2 separate regions of the Homo sapiens genome follow, and region 2 is linked to region 1. Evidence: promoter capture Hi-C in human tissues and cell types (Jung and others, 2019). All regions are on one chromosome and are shown on one strand. Each heading gives the region's core, a stretch centred on a gene start or on the middle of the fragment in contact. The rest is flanking DNA. Distances are from core to core; before and after follow the strand shown. Region 1 holds the start of DOK2 (docking protein 2). Region 2 has its middle 23 kb from the start of LZTS1.

Evidence for each region. Contacts are between HindIII fragments. The study calls those that stand out against the background at their distance.
Region 2: a contact is called between a fragment that was not itself captured here and the fragment with the promoter of DOK2 in region 1, in 1 of the 25 tissues and cell types used here (mesenchymal stem cells).

What each region holds. Positions count from the first base shown.
Region 1 is chr8:21,910,360-21,918,046 of GRCh38, forward strand. It overlaps DOK2 (docking protein 2), which reads right to left and starts at 3,331. Exons shown (of 5, transcript NM_003974.4): 1 at 3,180-3,331; 2 at 1,870-2,151; 3 at 1,542-1,629; 4 at 314-498. The coding sequence starts at 3,242. RefSeq lists an enhancer at 1,249-1,348. The HindIII fragment of the contact is 2,220 bases long and covers 2,190-4,409 here.
Region 2 is chr8:20,322,596-20,330,410 of GRCh38, forward strand. No RefSeq gene overlaps it. Among named protein-coding and RNA genes, the nearest start is that of LZTS1, 23 kb to the left of the region's middle. RefSeq lists an enhancer at 6,131-6,747. The HindIII fragment of the contact is 5,001 bases long and covers 2,416-7,416 here.

The DNA.
Region 1 (7,687 bases), core at 2,081-4,580:
TCTGCCCTCTGTGCTTTCCCCTACAGGCAGAGACTTGGCTCTCTCCTCTCCCCTCTCCAGGCCCTTCCTGCTCACTGCCACCATTTCAAGGATGGAGCTAGGCACTAGTTCAGACGCTGTTTACCCCTCTACGGTCTCTCCACCTCTTCTCATTCTCCTTCCTTCTACTCCACTTCTGCCATCTTGTCACTCTATTCTTTGCTTCACTCCATCTCCCTCTCCTGGTCTCTCCCATCCCCTCGCTGCTTCTCACCCCTCTTTGTTCGTAGCTTATCCTTTCTCTCAACCTGCCCTGATGCAGCTTCCCACTCACCTTGTCCCGCCCAAAGCGCCGCAGAAACCTGTAGGGCCAGTCGTACAGCTGGGTCCCTGGCTCGGGCCCACCCCACAGCTCCAGGGCACTCTCCCCAGCCCGGAGGGTATAGGACCCCCGCAGGTGGCACCTCTCACTGGCTTCTGTAGGTCTCATGGTCACAGCAAATTCCTTGTGGGGGCCGACTGGGGAGAAGAAGAGAGAGAAGGCGAAGGCAGTTAATGGGAAACAGCTGGCCTGCCTCACCACTGCCCAGTTCTAAATGAGCGTACCAGAACTTTTCTAGAAAGTATTATCCACACACTTATGGCCCCCTGCCTGGGTCTTGGAGGCTGAGCTGCTCTGTGCCAGGTCATACTCCCCAAAAGGCCAGGTACCTCCACCCCCTACCCTAGTAGGCATCACGCCCCTACCCACATCCACCCCAACCTCGTGCCCACATCCTTCCTGCCCCTGTCGCCAGAGCCACAGTCTTGTCTTCCCCACCCCATCTCTCACCCCAAACCAGCCACCACCCTAGTCCCTACGGTCACAGCTGCAGGTGAAGCCTTGGCCCTGCCCTCCCACTGCCGGGGCCCTGGGGGTGAAGCTTAGATGGAAGGCAGATGAAAGTTTCTCCTCCCTCCACCAGCTCCTCAAAAGCAACACCTGGGGCCAGGCGCAGTGGCTCATGCCTGTAATCCCAACACTTTGGGAGGCTGAGGCAGGTGGATCACCTGATGTCAGGAGTTTGAGACCAGCCTGGCCAACATGGTGAAACCCCGACTCTACTAAAAATACAAAAAATTAGCCAGGCGTGGTGGCCGACGCCTGTAATCCCAGCTGCTCAGGAGGCTGAGGCAGGAGAATCGCTTGAACCCGGGAAGCGGCGGTTGCAGTGAGCCGAGATTGTGCCATTGCACTCCAGCCTGAGCGACAAGAGCAAAACTCCGTCTCAAAAATAGAAAAAAGCAGCACCCTCACCTGGGCCCCCAGCCTTCCCCTCTCCCACCAGCAGGCCCTAGGTAAGATGAGGTGAACCAAGGGAGAGACTCAAGGCAGGGTAGGCTCCCTACGTTGGGCTGCACCCGGAAGCGAGAAGGAGAGGCTGATAACGGGGCTGGCCCAGGCTGGGGATAACCACAAGGCAGGAAGACTCGGGGCCAGCAGCTAGCCAGCCCACACCTCCTCTCCACCTCACCCTGGGGAGAGCCCCCAGGGGAGAGCAGGGCAGCCCCCGCCCCCTCACCTGTGACTGCGCTGCTGTACAATTCATTTTCCTCCATGCAGGGCCGGCTCTGCTTTCCCTCTGGCCCCGAGAGCTCCTTCCTCTGCCCCTAGGGAGGAGGCGCCCCGTCTCATCACCTTCCCCGATCCCCAGGCCCCCCTCTGGCCCAGGCCTTCTTTCAGGCCACCTCAACCTGCTGGCTCTGTCTGCACACTGGGTTCGGGTCCCCCCACATGGAGGAAGCACCCCATCACCCTGACCTTGACACCTGTAACACTTGCCCACAGGAAGTATCTAACACCCTCGGCCTGCACGCCCCCTTGCCCTTTCCGCACCCCGCGCGACTCACGGGGAAGGCCAGGAGGCAGATGGCCTGCACCCAGTCGCCGCGCTCCGCTGCAGGGGCCGCCAGGAGGTACAGGCGCTCCTTGGTCTCCAGGAAGAAGGCACTGGTGTCCCGGGGGCTGCTGGCCTCTCCGCCGGCCTCGGCCACCCGCAGGCAGTCACTGAGGCGGATGACCTTCCGGGCAGCCTCACACCGACGAGGCTTCTCCGGGCCCTCCTGCAGCTCCAGCCGGGCCAAGGCGCAGTCCGACCCTCCATACAGTGAGGCGCCGAAGCGGCGCCATTTCTGTGCCAGAGGCGTGGGAGGCGGGGGCGGGAGGGAGCCACCCAGAGACGGGGAGATCGTGAGCCAAGGGGAGAAGAGGAACCGTGGGAGGGGGACTGGGGCAGCCACTTGGAGATGGGGAGAGAGAGGTGAAGATCACATGAGACCCAGGGAGGCAGAGAAGAGGACAGTGACTGCAGGAATTAGAAAATCGGAGATCAGCCGCCAGCCCCGAGAAGGAGGCCCACGAGCAAGAGCAGAGACTGCCCAGGCAGAAAGCAACGCCGGGATGAGCCCAAAGCAGGCTGCAAGAAGGCCAAACAGGCCCACCGCAGTGGACTCCAGTCTGGGGAGGAAAGCGGGGCAGTGGCCGAGGCCCAGAGGAGGGAGTGAGGAGGGCGGCGTGTGACCCGGGCTGGAGACCTCATTCTCCTTCTGTGCGAAATCCTGAAGGAGAACTTCTCTCCACCCTCCTGAACCTTGCTGCCTCATTCCTTGATAGGTTGGGCCATGAGAGAGAGACAGGTGTGCCCCCCAGTGTTGGTTAGGGGACGAGGACTTCCTGGTTCAAGGAGGCCAGGGAAGGGGAAAGAGGATGGACAGCCGGCTGGGGTCCAGGCCCCCAGAGGCCCCAGCCCAAGCTGAACACCAGCCACATGCACCCCACTGGGGTTGGGAAGGAACCTCTATTGTCATCCTAAACTGTCCCTCCAGCTGCCCCTTCCATTCCCTTCCAAGGTGTCCGGTGAAAAGAAGTCAACATAGAGCAAGAGAGCAAAAGAGGCAAGAGATGAAAGCAGCACATCCCCCACCCCCACCCAGGGCAAACAGCCCTCAGTAAGGAGCACAGTTTGGGACCTGGTTGGGGCCTGGTTCAGGAGACAGCGTCGGGTAGGAAAAGAGCCCTCCCAAAGTTGAGCTCTGGGTCTAACTTGGTGGGTGCACAGTCAGACCTATAAGGGTTTTGAATATGAAACTCCCTCTCCAACCCAGGAATTCTAGCAGCCTCCCAGGCCCCCTGCCCAACCCCAGCCCAGCCTCACTCCTACCTTTCCAAACGTCTGCTGCTGCTGAAGATACAAGAAGCCTTGTTTCACTGCCCCGTCTCCCATCCTCTGACCATCTCGGAGCCCCAGGCTTCAGCTCTCTCCTTCACTCCTGCCCTTGCCTCTCTCTTCTTAGCCGTGTGTTTCCCTTCTCTGAAGTTCATTTCCTCTCTGCCTAGGGTTTTCTATACTATTCTAGTCTGCTCGATGACGACAGGCTGATAGGCCCTGCGGTTTCTTCTGAGTGTGTGTTCTTTTTTTTCTTTTTTTTTTTTTTTTCTGAGTGAGTTTTATACTCAAGCTTCCTGCATTTCCAGTGAGTTAGAGACAATTTCCAAAAAGCTAAATGCCAGCTCTTCAGTGAGCAACAATTCAGGTACAGAAGTTGGCACAGGGAGGCGCCAGCAAAGAGTGGCTGGCCCACTGGAACAGAGACCCAGAAACCAAACTAGACAGTGAAATCAGTAGTGAAGGCCCCCCCCTCCAAGCTGTACGCAAGTTGGAAGGGACAAACCACTAAGTTACAAATAAGGAAACAGGCTTGGAAAGTCTGAGGGATTTATTCAAGGTCACCAAACCAGAACCCAGGTCTCTCAACGCTTAACAGCTGAATGACACACACGGCACTGCACAGAGAGACACATAAGACAGCTCATGTGGGCCTAACCAGATACCAGTTTCACAAACACACACACACAGAGAGAGAGAGAGAGAGAGAGGCAACCGTTTAACTACATGCGAGCACTCCCTGTCTGCCAACAACACACACTCACACCAACCCTGTAAAGATTCTAGAAAGATGATCATCCCCTCTGGAGAAGGGACTGACTCCCCAAGTACATCTCAACTGTTGGATTTTTGCCTTCTTGCAAGCATTCCTGAGCATTAGAAAGATGCTTAGGTTTCATCTGCAAATTATCTTAAGTTTCAATAGCAATCACTTTCATATACATTTTGAAAATGGTTCAGAGTTACCGAAAGTGCTTCGTAGCTCGCAAAGCTTCTAGGCACACACTTTTCATCAGCCACGCCATCCTTTGACAAAGGCAGGGCAGGTATGAACACACTTATTTGCAACTTGCCTGAGGTCACAGAGGTAGTTGGGGGCAGAGGAAGAAGTAGAGACCAGGGCTCCTGATCTTTAATTCAACATTTTGCAGGGCCCCTAAATGGAATCCAGATCCATGCAAAAAGATCCATTGCTGTGGGGAAATCCAAGCTGCTCAGAGAAGTTTAACTTAAAGCCAGATGGTTTAGAGAAGCAATCTGTATGGAGGCACAGTGCAGAAGGGTTGGAAAAAACTGAGACTCAGACCAACACTCTTGGGGTTAATCCCATAACAGGTGCTTATATAAACAGGCCCATTTCCTCTACAACAGGGGTTCAGTTACCGTGGCAAGGAGCGAGCAGCACCGTGCACAGCTTAGGCCTTCTGCTGTACATGCCATGGACTGGACCAAATAAGCTTGAAAAAAATGAATGTCATGAGCTCTGTGAGGACAAGGATGAGTCACTTCAAACTCACTGCCCTCAGCCGTGATGCCTGGGTTTGAAGAGGTTGATCCAAAGCTCAAGGGAGAACCAAGCATACTGTTTTGGGAAAAGCACACCTTGGGAAGTGGTTAGGGGTATGGAAATGGGATGTGACCTAATCTTCCTCTTTAGTCCCTAAGGAGAGTCAACTCTGCCTGGGAGCTGCATGGTCTTTGGTGCAGGGAGTGAGAAGAGGAGGGCTTTATGGCCATCTTAGGGGCTGCCAGAGCAGTGCCTTCCAAACTGTAACATGTAGATCTTGTTCAAAGTAGACTCCAATAAAGTAGGTCTGGAATGAGCCCTGAGATGCTGCCGGTGGTGGGTGGGTCAAAGCACACTGAGTAGCAAGGTGACAGAGGATGTCCCCTGCTAACCTGATCGCCTTCCCTGAAGGCAAAATGGACACATTCCACTCAGAACCACAGGGGGGCACCCAAGTTTACCAGATTACTTGAAAGTTGTTTAAACCCGGAGGCCTGAACCCCAGGCAATCCAGACACTCCCTTGTCATCCCTTGCTTATGGAAGCTGGAGGAGTTCTCCGGTAGCCGTTGACTGCAGAAGATAGGGCAGCAGAGTATATACCAAGAGCAACACCCTTGCAGTCCTTCTAGGCCCCTTCAACTGTCCCTAGCAGGATTTGTGGCGACCCTGATGTAGAAGCACTAACCCCAGTACCTTCTGCCTAGCCATGGGGAAACCCTGTAAACAGGAGCCCAGAGACATTGCTCCAAGACACAGCAGAAGCGCACAGAATGAGAAGCCCTTAGGGTCCACAGGCACCAATGATGTGTAGAAAAAGCACTGTAAAGGAGTTGAGGGTGCCTCTTGGCTTGTCTTTGTTTTTACGGGAAAGGAAAAGGCACTCCAAACCCCACCTGTGGCTCATTCTAAGCCACTGGGATCCTGTCCCTTACAACAGTTTCTCTCAGCAGGAGTCAGGAACCACAGCTCCAAGAAATTTTCATTACTATTCTGCTGCAGTGATTAGCAACCCAATCCTAACATAAGAGGGCTGGGACCTTGTCTTTGGGGCAACAAAGGAAGGAGGAGAGGAGACTGTGTCTGACTCCTTGGGCCGGCTTGGGGATTAGGTAACCCTCAAATGATGTGCAGGTAGGGAAGCTAGCTAAGGGGTAGTTCTGGGCACACAACAGGTAAGTACGTATAGGATAGGCAGAGAACTGATGTGGGCCTGAGACGGGTGAAGGACTGAGCGAAAGAATTAGTGAGCGTGTATTCTGAAGGACCCCATCCCTGCCCCTTCCACCCCCAGTGGTCCCTGACTGTGGGGTGTGGGAGGGGGACAATGCCAGTCTCTTGAGCTTCATTTGTAGCCCCCCACCCTTTCTCCATTAAGTCTATCACTTTTCTCAGTACTAAGGAAAGAGAGAACCCAGTTCTAGAAACCCGCTGAGAGGAAGGGCCTATAACATAACATAACATAACATAACATAACATAACATAACATAACATAACATAACATGTTACCTAACAGTGACATAATATTTAGAATGCTTTATGTCTTCATATGAAACCCACATGCACCCTAGAATGAGACATAAAGAAGTTAATACATTCAACAGTTTTTTAAATTTATTTTTATTTATTTTTTGAGATGGAGTCTTACTCTGTTGTCCAGGCTGTAATGCAGTGGCACGATCTCGGCTCACTGCAACCTCCGTCTCCTGGGTTCCAGCCATTCTCCTGCCTCAGCCTCCTGAGTAGCTGGGATTACAGGCGCACACCACCATGCCTGGCTAATTTTTTGTATTTTTAGTATAGACGGGGTTTCACCATGTTGGCCAGGCTGCTCTCAAACTCCTGACCTCAGGTGATCCACCCCCCTCAGCCTCCCAAAGTGCTGGGATTAAAGGTGTGAGCCACCATGCCCCGCCTCAACAATTATTTACTGAGCATCTACTCTGTGCAGAGGTACTAGGGATACAACATAGACAGAATCCTTGTTTATACTATGTCTGCTTTTAGTTGGAGGGACTGATAATGAAAGAGTAATAATATGTAGTTTTGGACAGTGATCAATGCTGTGATAGTGATAGGCACAGGGGACAACTTTCAAGAGGGTGGTGAGAAAAGGCTCTCTGAGAGGTGACAAGTGAGCTGAAAAGTCCATGAGGAGAGTGAGCCAGCCATTTCACGATCTGAAGGGAAACCAATCCAGGCAGAAGTTACTGCAAGTGCAAAGGCCCTGAGGCAGGAGATCCTGGCTTTGCAGAACTGCAAGGCCAGAATGACCACAGAGCATTGAGCCAGAGGGGGCATGGTAGAGTGAGGTCAGCTCATACGACCTCTTGAGCCACAGCAAAGATTCGAATTCTAAATGCAACATGAGGCCACTTAAGGATTTTAAGTAGGAGTGTAAATTATCTGAATTATGATTTTAAAGGAATGTTCTGGCCAGGCGCAGTGGCTCACACCTGTAATCCCAGCACTTTGGGAGGCAGAGGCGAGTGGATAACCTGAGGTCAGCAGTTCCAGACCAGCTTGGCCAACGTGGTGAAACCCTGTCTCTACTAAAAATCCAAAAATTAGCCAGGTATGGTGGTGGGCGCATGTAATCTCAGCTACTTGGGAGGCTAAGGCAAGAGAATCGCTTGAACCAGGGAGGCGGAGGTTGCAGTGAGCAGAGATGGCGCCATTGCACTCCAGCCTCGGCAACAGAGCAAGACTCTGTCTCAAAAAATAACAAATAAATAAAATAATGTTCTGCAGCGTCCAGCTATATGGAAAATGGGTTATCAAGGGGCAAGACAGGAAGCAGGGAAACTAATTAGGAATCTATTACCAGAGCACAGGAGAAAGGTAATGGTGGCTTGGACCAAGGTGTTAACAGTGGAGATGGATGGAGAAGTGGTCATATTGGGTATATATTAGATATAGATTGAACAGGACTTGCAGGTGACTTGCATGTTGGGGACTGATAAGACTTGAAGAACCAACTCCTGAGTGTTTATTAG
Region 2 (7,815 bases), core at 3,666-6,165, 1.6 Mb before region 1:
GTGTACACCGTCTGCACTGTATGAGAAGGACATCGAGATGCTTGCAGAGCTTGCAAATTCGCATTTACATTATCTCTGTAGCCCTGAGTTCTGGAATTTCAGTGCTTCATTGAGGAGTGAGCCCTGATGGGTAACACGGCCTCCGTTCTATCAAGTGAGCAGATATTTTCAGTTCTGGGCCACAACAAGGGCTGCCACTGATTCTTATTTTGGAATTGTTTAAGACCAAGAACCTTCTACAGAAGGTTTTGACCTCATGTCCACATTTTTTTAAGCTGGAAAAATTACCCTCTGATGATTCTGGCGAGGAGCTGCTATGGGCTTTTAAACGCTTTGCCTCCATGACCCAGAAAGAACGAATTTTTCCACCTTGACTTCTCAAGGCACTGCATTTTCTAGACTTCTAAATTCTATACATGTCTTGGACACATGGCCACAGGGCCTGAGCAGTGCCCAGTGTCTACGTACAATACATGAATTACCTTGAAAGTCACCTGGAAATACTATTATTTTATTTTTTGTTTGCATCTTAGAATAAGGCTCATGAATACAAAATTACTTCTTCCAGAGGCCCCTCCTTGAACCTGAATGTAAAATGATATTCAGGAAAGCAAATTTGGCTCTGCCAACTTAGGCCTGGAACTAATAATTTGTTTTTTTGAGTCAGGGTCTTACTCTGTTGCCCAGGCTGGAGTGCAGTGGTGTGATCTCGGCTCACTGCAACCTCTGCCTCCTGGGTTCAAGTGATCCTCCCACCTCAACCTCCCCAGTAGTTGGGACTACAGGTGCATGCCATCATGCCTGGCTAATTTTTGTATTTTTTGGTAGAGATGGGGTTTCACCATGTTGGCCAGGCTGGTTTTGAACTCCTGACCTCTGTTGATCTGCCTGCCTCAGCCTCCCAAAGTGCTGGGGTTACAGATATGAGCCACCGTGTCTGGCCCTGGCACTAATAATTTAAAATTAGAGCCTCAGTAGTACCCTGTAACAAACTCAGAACTAAGATGCCTTGCTTTTTAAAAGGAACTGATATTGCTCTGCCCTGTAAAGACTGAAAAGATCAAATCCCATCTCAGCCTAGCCTGGGATGCAGGTCTAAGCTGCTTCTGCATAATAAATTGCAGCAGGTGGCCTGGACACTACTGTTTCTGTATTGAGGCCATAGTTGACTTACTAGGCTGGTGTTTTCTCTGGCCAATCATATGGCCTGAGTACTTTTGCTTAAGGCAGGTACAGCCTGAGCAGCATTTGCTGGAAGCTGCCCATAATTCAGTCCCCCTTTTTTTTTTTTTGAGATGGAATCTTGTTTGGTCACCCAGGCTGGAGTGCAGTGGCGTGATCTCGGCTCACTGCAACCTCCGCCTCCCGGGTTCAACTGATTCTCCTGCCTCAGCTTTCTGAGTAGCTGGGATTACAGGTGCCCACCACCATGCCTGACTTTTTTTATTTTTAGTAGAAATGGGATTTCACCATGTTGGATAGGCTGGTCTCGAACTCCTGACCTCAAATGATCTGTCTTTCTCGGCCTCCCAAAGTGCTGGGATTACAGGGGTGAGCCACTGTGTGCCTGGCCCATAATTCAGTTTCGACTTTACGGAAACAGCCTCTCTCCAGTGAACAAAGTGCTGGGATTACAGGCGTGAGCCACTGTGTGCCTGGCCCATAATTCAGTTTCGACTCTATGGAAACAGCCTCTCTCCAGTGAACAAAGCCATTATAAGCTTTTGCTCAGGGTGCAGTAATTAAAAACCAAATGCACAATGGCTAAAAATCTAACTGGCTCAATATAAACCTCCACAACCACCTAAGGCCCCAGGGCCTTGCCCAGATCAATACCCATGCACCCTGGCCCTACCAAAAAACCTTTTCATGTGTTATTTTGGTTTCAAAACTCCATTTCCTGTTGATATAATTTGGCTGTGTCCCCACCCAAATCTCATCTTGAATTGTAGCTCCCATGATTCCCATGTGTTGTGGGAGGGACCTGGTGGGAGATAATTGAATCATGGGGTCAGTTTCCCCCATACTGTTCTCAATAGTTTTATAAAAGGTGTCCCTTTTTCCTTGGTTCTCATTCTCTCTTTGCCTGCTGCCATGTAAGACATGCCTTTTGCCTTCCACCATGATTGTGAGGCCTCCAGAGCCAGTGGAACTGTGAGTCCATTAAACCTCTTTTTCTTTATAAATTACCCAGTCTCAGGTATGTCTTTGTCAGCAGCATAAAAATGGACTAATACACCTGTCTTAATTCTCAGTATTCCTGACCCATGCAACAAATGATGGTGTCTCTGAGTGTGCTCTCCATCAATGGCTTCTCCTTTCCCTACCTCAGTTCTGATACAGATGAAAGCAAAGTCTTTTTTTTTTTTTTGAAATGGAGTCTTGCTCTGTCCCCCAGGCTGGAGTGCAGTGGCGCGATCTCTGCTCACTGCAAACTCTACCCACCACGTTCATGCCGTTCTCCTGCCTCAGCCTCCCGAGTAGCTGGGACTACAGGCACCCGCAACCACGTCCGGCTAATTTTTTGTATTTTTAGTAGACACGGGGTTTCACTGTGTTAGCCAGGATGGTCTCGATCTCCTGACCTCGTGATCCACCCACCTCGGCCTCCCAAAGTGCTGGGATTACAGGCGTGGGCCACCGCGTTCGGCCGAAGGCAAAATCTTAAGATGTGGCTTACATCTTTGGGCAAGTATGCTTCCTAACTCCTTAAATTAAAAAACTGCTGCTCCCCATAGGCAGCTCATTCCCAAGATGAAAAAGGGAAGAACTGAGCTGAGCTGAGCATCCTCAGTTTCTTCTCTTCAAATTCATGAATCCTGTTAAAATATACTTTTTCCCCTGGAAAGTGAGAAGTCCAGAGAGTCCAGGAGTGTCACACCTTCCTATGTAAGAAGAATCTTGAATGAGGGGGATGTGCCCCCCCCATCCATGTGGAAGAGGTTGCATTAAATAGGAATGTAAGAGTGGTGTTTGATAAATCTACTATGCAACAGAGTTCCCAAACTGGAAGTCCGTCCCTTCTTTTCTCTAAGTTTTGCTCTAGAGATATGTTAAAAAGAAACAAACCAACAAAGCCCTTTACGTTGTCATGCTTGCATTTTGTAAGCTTTAGTTTATCTTGATTCTAAACTTTTGCCATTCTTAGCACTGTTTAATTGGACTCTGAAGTATTTAATCATCTGAATGGTTTTTTGTTAAGTCTAACAGCAACACCTGTGGCTACCTCAATTCTCATAGGTATCTTGTCCTTTTCAGTGATGTGATGTAACCTGCTCCTCAAACAGGATGGTAAGCTAGTCAGTTGATTTTCAGCATAGGTGCCATGACATTTAATAAGGGAAAGAACAGTGTTTTCAGCAAATGGTGCTGGGGCAACTAGATATCCACGTGCCAAAAAATAAAAATGGATTTGGACCCCCACCACACACCATACCAAAAAAAAAAAAGAAAGAAAAACTCAAAATAGTAGATTTAGATGTATGAGCTAAAACTGTAAAACTCTTAGAAGGAAACAGGTAAAATATTTATGACCTTGGTTTAGGCAATGATTTCTTAGATATCTGAAAAAAGATATCAGAATATTCAGAATATATAAAGAACTCTTACAAGTAAATAATAAAAGGACAAATAACTCAATTAAAAAGTAGGCAAAGGATCTAAATAGATATTTCTCCAAAGAGGACACAGAAATGCCCATAAATACATGAAAGGATGCTCAATATCATTACTCATTAGAAAAATATAAATCAAAATGCAATAAAAGGTCTAGGCATGGTGGCTCACACCTGTCATTCTAGCACTTTGGGAAGCCAAGGAAAAAGGATCACTTGAGCCCAGGTATTTGAGACCAGTCTGAGCAACATAGAGAGATCCCATCTCTAAAAAAATTAAAATTAAAAAAACTAGGCAGGCATGATGGTGCACACCTGTGGTCCTAGATACTCAGGAGGGTGAGGTGGGAGGATCACTTGGGCCCAGGAGGTCGAGGCTGCAGTGAGCCGTGAGTGCACCACTGCACTCCAGCCTGGGTGACAGAACAAGACCTGGTCTCAAAAAAAAAAAAAAAAAAATTGTTTAAGTGTTAATAAAAAATGCAATAAGATACCACACTCGCTAGGATGGCTAGGAAAAAAGACAGGTAATAATAAGTGTTGATGAGAATATAGAGAAATTGCAATCTCAAACATTGCTGATGAGTGTAGCTACTTCGGAAAACAGTCTCGCAGTTCTTGAAAAAACCTGTTTATAGAGTTACCATATGACCCAGTAATTTCACCTCTTTTATGTACCCAGGAGGAATTAAAAGTTACATCTACACAAAAATTTACGCATGAATGTTCACAGCTACACTATTCATAAGAGCCCCAAAGTGGAAACAACCCAAATGTCTATCAACTGGTGATGGATAAACAAAATGTGGTATGGATATGCATACCATGGAATGCGACTCAGTATAAAAAGGGATGAAGTGCTTGCATATGCTGCAACATGAATGAACCTTGAAAACACATGCTCAGTGAAAGAAACCAGTCACAAAAGACCACATACTGTGTGATTCCATTGACACAAAATGTTCAGAATACACAAATCTACAGAGACAGAAAGTGGGTTAGTGGTTGCCTAGGACCAGGGAAAGGGGGTCATTTGAAGGGAAATGGGGATTGCCTACTAATGGGTACAGGGCTCCTTTTTGGGTGATGAAATATTTTAAAATTGATTGTAGTGATGGCTTCACAATTCTGTGACTATACTAAAAATCGTTAAATGGTACACTTCAATTGTGTGAATTGTAAGGTATGTGAATTACATCTCAGTAACTCTCTTAAAAGACAAACAAAATGATACAAAACAAAAATGCCTACATCTTGAAGGTAGACATCATGTTTGGCACTTCTTTGTGCAATGAGAATGAGTAAAGGAGTGTACCTTGCTGATTTTGCACTTGATTGAGGTCCTCCAGCCATTCAAGTCTTCAGAGCATTGAAAACAATAAAAGGGTCTCCTTCTCAGTGATGTTTCTGAAGACTGCATGGGGCAGAGGAGAGTTCACCTCCCCGGGCAGTTTTCTTAAGGCGCTTGGGGAAGGCTGGGTCCAGAAATACCAACAACAGCAACAGGCACTGGAAAGCCGGTCCCCTTCCCTCTATGCCTGTGGCTGTTGGATACTCTGTCACCATTGGATTACCTCACAGACCTGCCCTTGTCACTGGTGGTCCCTTCTTATTGTCGTTGCCCACCATGGTGTGGGAGCCGTGTACAAGTGCCTCGATCTGCAATTATGTCTGGAAAAGTTAGGACGCTTCCATGAACTCTGAGTGCGAGTTCTCAGAAAGTCTGCTAATTACTCTCAGTTCCTGGAGAATCTCTTCCCAAGACCTTCGTCTACAGATGCAGATACAGAAGACAGATCTTACCACTTTGTGCTGTTCCCTGACCTAAAGGGTGCTTCCGGGAAACAGGCTCTATCCTGTTCCAAAGCTGAAGCTCTCCCCTTGCTGAACCCAGACTGGATCAATAGGCTTCGCCCTTATATTCCCTCCTGCCTCTGTCATCATCTTCTCCCCTCCTCCACCCTCTTTCTAGAGCTTCCAACTTCTTTTCTGGCAAGCAGTATCAGGAATAGATCAACACAGAATTCGAAATTAGACAAACCTGATAAGCATCTTCCCTCCTCTTCTTGCTATCTGTGTTAACTGGACCAAGTCACTTCACTGCTCTCTGCCTTTATTAGAGAGAATTATAGCTCCCTGGAGGGCGTGGGTAGTGGTGGTATCAAGAGTTAAGGAGATAATGCAACTAAAGCATTTAGCATGGTGTCTGGCCCCTGGTGAGTGGTCTGCAATTGATAGCAGCTGTTCTTATTTCCTCCTTTGGGCAGAAAGCTCACCCCAGATAGCGTGGTGTGGAGGCACCCTATTGTGCTGAACTCCCAGCGTCTTGGCTCTGCCGTCAGGCATGGTCCCATGGGGCTGGACTTGTAACATCTTCCTCCGCTTTTATGGGAATCGTCTCCCCTGCACGTTTTGATAGGGTAGAGGCAGCTGCCCAATTGCACAAACACACAAAACAGTAACTGTGGCCCCTCAGAGTTTGGGGTTTCTGGATTTGTTACTGGGGTGGGGGCTGGAGAAGAGGAGTGAGGGATAAACAGTCGCCACTTTCTTTCTTCCATCTGTCCCACTTCTTTCTGTGAAAGAGTGTTTAGTTCAGGACACTCATCTATACCCTCCAAAGCATTCAAATCTGAAGAAAAGTCAGTCCACTGACTAATGACTGATGATGTTGGTAAGATATATATTTTTTCTTTTGTTTTAAGAGATAGGGTCTCATTCTTTTGCTATTTTTTAGAGGCTGGTCTTGCACTCCTGAACTCAAGGGATCCTCCCACTTCCACCTCCTGAGCAGCTGAGATTGCAAGTGCATGCCCCTATGCCCAGGTTGAGGATATGTTGACATGTTTAAATGGAATGCATGAATGCACTGAGGCCCCTTGGTCATAAGCACTTTCCAGCAACCTCCATCCCAGGCCTCTCCCAGCCCCCACACACTCCAACACAGCCAAAGTGTTCTTTCTCAGGGCTGGTGACCTTGTTTAAGGAAGCCGGGGCATGGGGTTCTCATCAAGTCCCTGCACAGCTCTAAAGCCCTGGGCGTTCGATGTGTTCTCATGTTTTCTCGTAATGCGCAGTACTTGACTAGGGCTCAGTAAGTGTTTCTTGACTGGTTAGTCAGTGTGGGCTACTTTCCCTCTCCTTCCCTGAGAGCCCAGCTGAGTACGGAATGAAAGGGAAATGAAATAAACATCTCAGGCCCTGCAGCCCACCAGGGTCATGGTATTCACAGCGCTGCTGTGAGTCAGCGCTGACCCTTCTTTGTCATCGTCGGAGGCACCGGAACTAAGAGCATAAACAGAGGCGGAAGAGGAGGAGGGTTGGGAGCGGCGGGATTAGTCCCTGGGTAATGCTCTATCAAACCCCACAACTTTCAACAATAAACTTCCAGTAGAAACGCTTCTGAAGCCAGGCTGGTTTCTGTGCTCTCATGTACAGTATCACATTAGATCCTCTTAACGCCCCCGCAAGGGAGAGCTTTTTGCAAGTTAAAATTCAGTGGGAGCCATGAGCAAGTCCCCAAAAGGATCTGGTTTAGCTTATTTTCAGACAGACTTCTGCTGCATCAGAGAGTGGCGGCATGTGTTCTGTGTAGTCAGATATAGGGCCGGGGATTAGAAAAACGGAGCAGATGTTGCACCATTAATTGTCTAGGATTAGACAGTCTGGAGGTTCAAGATTCGAACTTCAGTTTGCAATTTTGCCCACAGGTATTTAATGAAACAAGGCATTTCCTTGGGGGCTTACAATGGAATTTAAAGGCCCCAAGGGTTTTACATTTAAGCTCGAATTTAAGCTTGAATTTAAAGCTTTTCCTACACACCTTGATTTACAAATGCTCCAAAACTAGGACAGAGAGAGGTTAAGTAACTTGTTCAATGCACTGCCATAGGTTAGGGTCAGTGGTAAGACCAGAAACAAGGTTTTCTGTTTCCTAATTCATGATTCTTGTCGATTCCTCCCTGTCTGGGCCTTCGTTCTCATCTAAAGCCTATGTGTTGAGACTATGGAATACTTGCTGTCTTTCCTTAATGGGAAGGGGATGATGAGGCAGCCTAAAGCTTAGACACGACTCAGTGTTTTTCAGCATTGAGAATGGATCAGACTCAAAAGAATAAAGATCCAGTCACCTTTTTTTTTTTTTTTTTTTTTTTTTTGAGACGGAGTCTTGCTCTATTCCCTAGGCTGGAGTGCAGTGGCG